Regions from separate parts of the Homo sapiens genome. Here regions 1 and 2 are each linked to region 3. Evidence: promoter capture Hi-C in human tissues and cell types (Jung and others, 2019). All regions are on one chromosome and are shown on one strand. The core of a region is centred on a gene start or on the middle of the fragment in contact, and the rest is flanking DNA. Distances in the headings are between cores, read along the strand shown.

Evidence for each region. The method cuts DNA at HindIII sites, captures the fragments that hold promoters and counts their contacts. A contact is called where the count stands out against the background at its distance.
Region 1: a fragment that was not itself captured here is called in contact with the fragment with the promoter of KRTAP9-4 in region 3 in 4 of the 25 tissues and cell types used here (H1 embryonic stem cells, adrenal gland, dorsolateral prefrontal cortex and 1 more).
Region 2: a contact is called between a fragment that was not itself captured here and the fragment with the promoter of KRTAP9-4 in region 3, in 3 of the 25 tissues and cell types used here (IMR-90 fibroblasts, mesenchymal stem cells and spleen).

The regions. Positions count from the first base shown.
Region 1 is chr17:41,111,336-41,114,035 of GRCh38, forward strand. It overlaps LOC124904002 (a long non-coding RNA gene), which reads left to right. Exons shown (of 2, transcript XR_007065754.1): 2 at 1-1,335. Among named protein-coding and RNA genes, the nearest start is that of KRTAP4-11, 5.7 kb to the right of the region's middle. The HindIII fragment of the contact is 6,500 bases long and covers 1-2,700 here.
Region 2 is chr17:41,091,179-41,093,878 of GRCh38, forward strand. No RefSeq gene overlaps it. Among named protein-coding and RNA genes, the nearest start is that of KRTAP4-8, 5.6 kb to the right of the region's middle. The HindIII fragment of the contact is 6,382 bases long and covers 1-2,700 here.
Region 3 is chr17:41,248,325-41,251,024 of GRCh38, forward strand. It overlaps KRTAP9-4 (keratin associated protein 9-4), which reads left to right and starts at 1,363. Exons shown (of 1, transcript NM_033191.3): 1 at 1,363-2,329. The coding sequence starts at 1,397. The coding sequence ends at 1,861. RefSeq lists an enhancer at 1,090-1,644. The HindIII fragment of the contact is 7,447 bases long and covers 1-2,700 here.

The DNA of each region.
Region 1 (2,700 bases), core at 119-2,618, 140 kb before region 3:
TGATGACTATTGCAGTTTTCATAAATAATCTAGGTAAACAATTCCTTTTTAAAAAGGTGAACAATTGTCATCTAATTCAATGCTTATTTAAAGATTATGTATAAGACAAGTTAAAAGGAACCAGGAAATCAGAGAGATGTAAAGAAAGGTATAAAAATAAAGAGGATAAAGAGGGTTCTTTTTGGTAAGGAAGCTTAAAGAGAAATAATTTCATATGAGAAAAGATCTTGTATGGTAAATTTAGACCTAAAATAAAATGATTGTTTAAGAAAGATGGATGTTCAAAACAAACCAGAAAGTCCAAGCATATCATGAACAGTCTGTAAAAGTCATAATAAGAGGATTAAAAAAAAAACCAACAAACTTTTATATGGTCAAGTTGTCTGTAATTAAAAGGAAATTATAATAGTCTTCCTGAAGATTGGGCTTCATGTAAAAAAAAAAAAGCAATGATAAACAAAATAGTTAGAGCGATGAAATTTTCTTAAGGGATTGATTTACTCTTATTAAATTATAAGAGATTTTAATTTTTTTAACCCAAAGTTCAACTGTTTACTCGCTGTTTTCTCTCCCCTTCAACTCGTTTGCAGCTCATATAAGTTATTTTCCTTAAATTCTATTTGTTATGGTCTGATGCTAACAATGTTTTCTAAAAGTCTAAAGAAAATGTTTTCTTCCAAAGTAATATTCTGTGCAGTGTAGAAGGTCTTTTCTTTTGCCTTTGGGTAATTGACCTAACAGATTTTATGGCTTATTGAAACAATGCTATGCTGTTATTATTAATTTTTGATTTGCTCAGGAAAAAGTATCTGAGATAATTTTTTAAAATTAAGGTTATTACATCCATGTATATTTCTGTAGGTGCTTTGAAAGTACCTGTGACATTAAGTTACAGGCCTTTGACTCCTGGGTCTAAAAAGGACACCAAGGTCTGCTAAATCTTAAGCACTGACAGCAATTAAAACCTCATCTTCAGGCCTGGTAGAAGATGCCAATCAAAATAAACTGCATTCCTGAGACATAAGGCCAGAAGTAAAAGCTATTCAACTCCTCAAGGCTCAGGAACTACCACAGAAGAGGTAGGCATGTGAGATTGTAAGGGCTGATTTTGAGAGACAAAATAAGTTCAGTTTCTCTGCAAGTTAATAATTGATGTCAAAGGCACACTGATGCAATACCAGCATACGGGCCCCTGCGTCAGATTAAAAAGGTTTTCTTGAAGTGTTAACCGACCCCTTAATAAAGGTTATAAAGGTTAAAAAAGGCTTATGGAAGCTGTATCTTATGGTCAAGATTAAAATTTTAAAGATTGATAATAAAATTTCAAAAAACAAATTTAATTGGCTTTATGCTGTTTTATTTGGGCTTAATGTTTGAAAAATTGACTTATTTTATGATGACCTATCAAGTATTTTAAACTTTTGATATTTGGCAAAGTTTCCAGAATCAAATTACAAGTTGTGTATTTTTCTGACCTAATTAATCCTCTAAGATATTAGTTTCCCTAAAGTCCAAAAATGAAATAAATGACTTATTTGGTATAAAAATTATACAGGAAGCATTGTCAAATATAAAATGGTGTTTGGTTTTCTTTGGGCTGTATTTGTATAAAAATGTTATTGGTATGTGCACCAAAATTATGGGAAACTCCTATAATTCTGATATGACATGGTGTACAATATCACTAATAATTATAATTGTTATATAAAATTATCGTGTGCCACAGTGGTAACAAATTTTCTTGTCAATTGTGTCTTTGATTATGGCTGACCTAAAACTTTTTGTCACCCATGGACAATTGTTTTGTTTTAGTCCTTTTTAGAAGATGGTTTTATAATCAGCTATAAAACTCTAACACGTGTTCTTGAAGGCAAGTTTCTAATAACTTTGGAGACTGTGACATCAGAATGGAGGAAAAGCTTTCAGAACTCATGGAGACCTGAAATGTTCATGAATAGCAAGCAGAACAGGAATTAACTGCATGAACTGAACTAATAGAAGAGCAACGTAATCTTTTTGACTTTTTGCTTAAAATGTTGCTGCTCCTTGTTTTCCTTTTTTTAGTCAAGGAAACTTTTATTTGAGCTGTTGTCAGCTTTTAACAAGTTAGTATACTCCTGTGAAAAATATTTGGAGCATATTTGTTTCTCTCTACCTGATTTTCCCCAGAATTGGAAACTATCTGTGAGTATTCTTAACTTATGGCAATACAGTTATTTGCATAAGTGCAATAATAATCTGTTTTCATGTGTAACAAGACACAATTGGAGAAATTGGTCATTTTACCAAGGCTTTGACTGGAATGGTGTGCTCTCCTTTAAGGAATCAAATTTGACTTATGGAGCCAATAAAAGCCCCTTGGGAGAACTGGCCTCATACCTTATCTACACAGTCCCTGTACAGGGTTCCTGACCTGTGGTAAGTAAAGCATGTCACTTTCTAACAGTTCCAGGAGCCCCAAGTTTATCTTGGAACCTCAAGAGCAGAGGAATTCATGCAACTCATAGGTATTTGATGGTACAAATCCATGGCTAGGCTAAGCTTTCCAAAAGTCTTATCCGAAATTCCTTCTATGGAACAAAGTTCTGATAGGGACAGGGGGCTGAGAAATTCTAGGCAGAAAAGGGTAGGTCTCTGACAAAACCCCACCTTCAAGCTGAAAAGCCTTAAACCACGGCCCAAAGTGAGAACTTATATCCC
Region 2 (2,700 bases), core at 43-2,542, 160 kb before region 3:
TTTCCTCTCAAAGTCTGTTCAGCCTGTGCTGGTAAGAAAGCTTAAAGAGAAATAATTTCATATGAGAAAGAATCTTGTATGGTAAATTTAGACCTAAAATAAAATGACTGATTGTTTAAGAAAGATGGATGTTCAAAACAAACTAGATAGTCCAAGCATATCATGAACAGTCTCTATAAGTCATAAGAGGATTTATTTTAAAAAAATACCAAAAAACTTTTATATGATTGAGTTGTCTATAATTAAAGGGAAATTATAATGGTCTTCCTGAAGATTGGGCTTCATGCTAAAAAAAACACTTATAGACTAAATAATTAGTTACAGCGATGAAATTTTCTTAAGGGATTGATTTACTCTTAATAAATTATAAGAGATTTTAATTTTTTAACCCAAAGTTCAACTATTTACTTGCTGTTTTCTCTCCCCTTCAACTTGTTTTCAGCTCATATAAGTTATTTTCCTTAAGTTCTGTTTGTTGTGGCCTGATGCTAACAATGTTTTCTAAAAGTCTAAAGGAAATGTTTTCTTCCAAAGTAATACTCTGTGCAGTGTAGAAGGTCTTTTCTTTTGCCTTTTGGTAATTGACCTAACAGATTTTATGGCTTATTGAAACAATTCCTATGCCATTATTATTAATTTTTGGTTTGCTTAGGAAAAAGAAACTGAGACAATTTTTTTAAAAAATTAACGTTATTACATCCATGTATATTTCTGTGTGCACTTTGAAAGTACCTGTGACATTGAGTTACCGGCCTTTAACTCCTGGATCTAAAAAGGAGACCAAGATCTGCTAAATCTTAAACACTGACAGCAATTAAAACCTCATCTTCAGGCCTGGTAGAAGATGCCTATCAAAATAAGCTGCATTTCTGAGACATAAGGCCATAAATCAAAGCTATTCAACTCTTCAAGACTCAGGAACAATCACAGAAGAGGTAGGCATGTGAGATTATAAGGGCTGATTTTGAGAGATAAAATAAGTTCAGTCTCTATACAAGTTAATAATTGATGTCAAAGGCACACTGATGCAATACCAGCATATGGGCCCCTGTGTCAGATTAACAAGGTTTTCTTGAAGTGTTAACTGACCCCTTAATAAAGGTTATAAAGGTTATAAAAGGCTTATGAAAGTTGTATCTTATGGTCAAGATTAAAATGTTATAGATTGTTTAAAAAATTTTGAAAAACAAATTTAATTGGCTTTATGCTGTTTTATTTGGGCTTATTGTTTGAAAAATTGACTTATTTTATGATGACCTGTCATATCAAGTGTTTTAAACCTTTGATATTTGACAAACTTTCCAAAATCAAATTACAAGTTGTGTATTTTTCTGACCTAATTAATCCTTTAAGATATTAGTTTCCCTCAAGTCCAAAAATGAAATAATTTGACTTATTTGGTATAAAAATTATACAGGAAGCATTGTCAAATATAAAATGGTGTTTGGTTTTATTTGGGCTGTATTTGTATAAAATTGTTATTGGTATGTGCACCAAAATTATGGGAAACTCCTATAATTCTGATATGACCTGGTGTACATTATCAGTAATAATTATGATTGTTATATTAAATTATTGTGTGCCATGGTGGTAACAAATTTTCTTGTCAATTGTATCTTCGCCTATGGCTGACCTAAAACTTTTTGTCACCCATGGACAATTTTTGTCTTGTTTTAGTCCTCTTTAGAAGATGGTTTTATAATCAGCTATAAAACTCTAACAGGTATTCTTGAATGCAGGTTTCTAATAACTCTGGAGATTGTGACATCACAATGAAGGAAAAGCTTTCAGGACTCATGGAGACCTGAAATGTTCATGAATAGCAAGCAGAACAGGAATTAACTGCATGAACTGAACTAACAGAAGACTGAAGTAATCTTTTTGACTTTTTGCTTAAAACATTGCTGACCCTTTATTTTGTTTTTTTCAGTCAAGGAAACTTTTCTTTTGAGCTGTTGTCAGCTTTTAACAAGTTAGTATACTCCTGTGAAAAATATTTGGAGCATATTTGTTTCTCTCTACCTGATTTTCCCTAGAATTGGAAACTATCTGTGAGTATTCTTAACTTATGGCAATACAGTTATTTGCGTAAGTGCAATAAGAATCTGTTTTCATTTGTAACAGGACACGATAAATTGGTCATTTTACCAAGGCTTTTACTTGAATGGTGTGCTCTTCTTTGAGGAATCAAACTTGACTTATGGAGCCAATAAAAGCCCCTTGGGAGAACTGGCCTCATACCTTATCTACACAGTCCCTGTACAGGGTTCCTGACCTGTGGTAAGTAAAGCATGTCACTTTCTAACAGTTCCAGGAGCCCCAAGTTTATCTTGGAACCTCAAGAGGAGAGGAATTCACCCAACTCATAGGTATTTGATGGTACAAATCCATGGCTAGGCTAAGCTTTCCAAAAGTCTTATCCGAAATTCCTTCTATGGAACAAAGTTCTGATAGGGCCAGGGGACAGAGAAATTCTAGGCAGAAAAGGATAGGTCTCTGACAAAACCCCACCTTCAAGCTGAAAAGCCTTAAACCATGGCCCAAAGTGACAACTTATATCCCTGTTTTCCTGCTTGAAAGTTGCCTTTTTCTAAACCACTCATGGCCCCATCCTGTCCCATCCTGTGCCTGTGAAGATCTCAGACTGAGCTGGCAGAGGCAAGAAGCAGCTGGATGTTGGGGACTACAGCCGGACATCAG
Region 3 (2,700 bases), core at 113-2,612:
GAACTTTGATAAATAAATTTAAGCCACTTTTTTTCAGTAATTCATCAGGGCAGTGCTAGTAAATTAATATACTCAGTAAATCTCCTGAGCTATAGATATATTCTGCTACACTATATGGCTTGAGGGTAATTATCCCTCACCAAATAGTAACTACTTTCTCTGTCTGCTGCTTTGCTTATATGAAGAGTCCAAAATGACTAGGCGATAAAGATTACTTTTGTTTATGCCAAAGAAATAGAGAAGCAAATACTATACTTTTTATTCACATGAAAACTTTAAAAAACCAAAAATTACCTACAGGATTACAACTGATAGAGTGATTAGCTGTCTTTGGGAATGAGTAAGAGCATATAATTGGGAGAGAATGGAATTAATTTCTATTTCCTAACATAGATGTAATGGGGACACAGATGTATTTACAATATAATACTATATCAAGTTGAAAATTAATAATTTGCATTCTTCTCAAATGAATGGTATACCTAGAAAATGTTTTAAACATGTTAGAACTCCATGATGAATCAGGCATCATCTCAACTCATCTAATTCCTTCATTAAAAAGAAATAGAGAGAGAGAGAGAAGACATGCTGCTTACTGTGCTAGTAACCGGGTTGCGACTAGAGCCACAGCACATGCTGGTTGGCCTGAATCTCAAGCATTTATGCCATAGAGAGTCCTACATTCTCATTCTGGAATCGCCACGCTCACAGACAAGTCAGAATGAATGGTCACTCAGGGCATAGATTACTTGATGCTGTCTAAATCCCAGTGGATTTATCTGCATCCACCTGCTCTCGATCTGCTCTGCCACATGGAACACACTGTGACAAACACCCTCTTCCCAAGTGATGTTCAAAGAACTGAAAGACAGGTGGTGTGGGTTGCACAGAGAGATGCCTGCTAGTCTTGAGTCAGAATTTGGTGGGTGACTAGTCTTGGGCCCAGGCATGGATTCATTTTGTCACTGTAAATATATCAGCATCATGCTTCTCCCCACAGACACTTCCCAGTCTACATACAGCCAAACATGAGGCTGGCCAGAGAGAACTTCCTGAGCCTCCCAGATCAACAGGAACTATCACATGACCAGATGATGGTCAGAACAGGAATGATGCTGATGATGAGATTGCCTTCCTTTTATCTGAAACAAAGTGTCTATGAGTAATTCACAATTAAGAAACAGATTAAACCTTAATCTGTTTAACCTTAAGGAAACAACTACCCTTTGAGAATCACAAACGGACTGGGAAAACAATGTAAACGGAAACAAGGAAAAGTCCTGCTGATTGGTGGAAACTTTGGAGGCCAGGTGTATAAAAGGTCCAGATTGCAAGGGGTCATCAGATTCTGGGAAACTCACCTCTGAACAGAAGCCCACCCTCTACCCCTGACACCATGACCCACTGTTGCTCCCCTTGCTGTCAGCCTACATGCTGCAGGACCACCTGCTGCAGGACCACCTGCTGGAAGCCCACCACTGTGACCACCTGCAGCAGCACACCCTGCTGCCAGCCCTCCTGCTGTGTTTCCAGCTGCTGCCAGCCTTGCTGCCGCCCAACTTGCTGTCAAAACACCTGCTGCCAGCCCACCTGTGTGACCAGCTGCTGCCAGCCTTCCTGCTGCAGCACACCCTGCTGCCAGCCCACCTGCTGTGGGTCCAGCTGTGACCAGAGCAGCTCCTGTGCACCTGTGTACTGCAGAAGAACCTGCTACTACCCCACAACTGTCTGCCTGCCTGGTTGCCTAAACCAGAGCTGTGGCTCCAACTGCTGCCAGCCCTGCTGCCGCCCAGCCTGCTGTGAGACCACTTGCTTCCAGCCCACCTGTGTGTCCAGCTGCTGTCAGCCTTTTTGCTGCTGATCAAGTCCCAAGAGAACCACCATCCTCACACAACAACTTTCTGCTCAACTGACTTATCTTTTGGGGGACTAATTTAATTTGCTGCTGACAGCCACCATGCTCTCACCCAAATTTTTATGAATTCTCTACCTGTTTAAAATCTTGGGAATCTACTTGAGGGAGGGCAGAATACTTCATCCTGATTCTCTTTTTCCTTACACTTTGTGGATCATGTGCCAGCTTCGTGTGTTCTCAATTTTGAGTCATGGTCTCAGCTTTGACTCAAAAGTCAAGAGCTTCATTCTCTGCTTCTAAGGAATTTAGGTTTCTGCAACTGATCAATAATCTTTGCAATCATATTTTTGTTTTCAATATCCTCCTCATGGTTCTTGTATCCTTCTTTCTTCTTTTCATAACTTTGGGTTATGTTTCTGCTACCAGCAGAGATTCTTAGCTATATGTTTCTGAATAAACTCTGAACCATCCTCATCTCATATGGTGTTTTGTTTTATATGAAAGCATTCCTGATATGAGATTTACACACATATCACATACCATAGGTATTATCCAATTTGATTCTCAAAACAGATGGTCGTGTGTTATTACCTCCATTTTTTCAGCTGAGAACAATTTAATGTGTGATGTTATGTAGCTAGTAAAGGGCAGACTCTTGTCCAAGCTGAGGTCCTCTCTTTCTGCCCAAGGACACTTACATTTAACTCTCAATATAGTAGAAATGACATTGGAAGTAAGTATTAGCAAGTCATATACTTGAGTTTTTTTAACAATAGGACAAATAATCTCTTATATTTGCAGATAACGTTTTTGTTTACAAAAAATTCCCAATTTCCCACACCTCA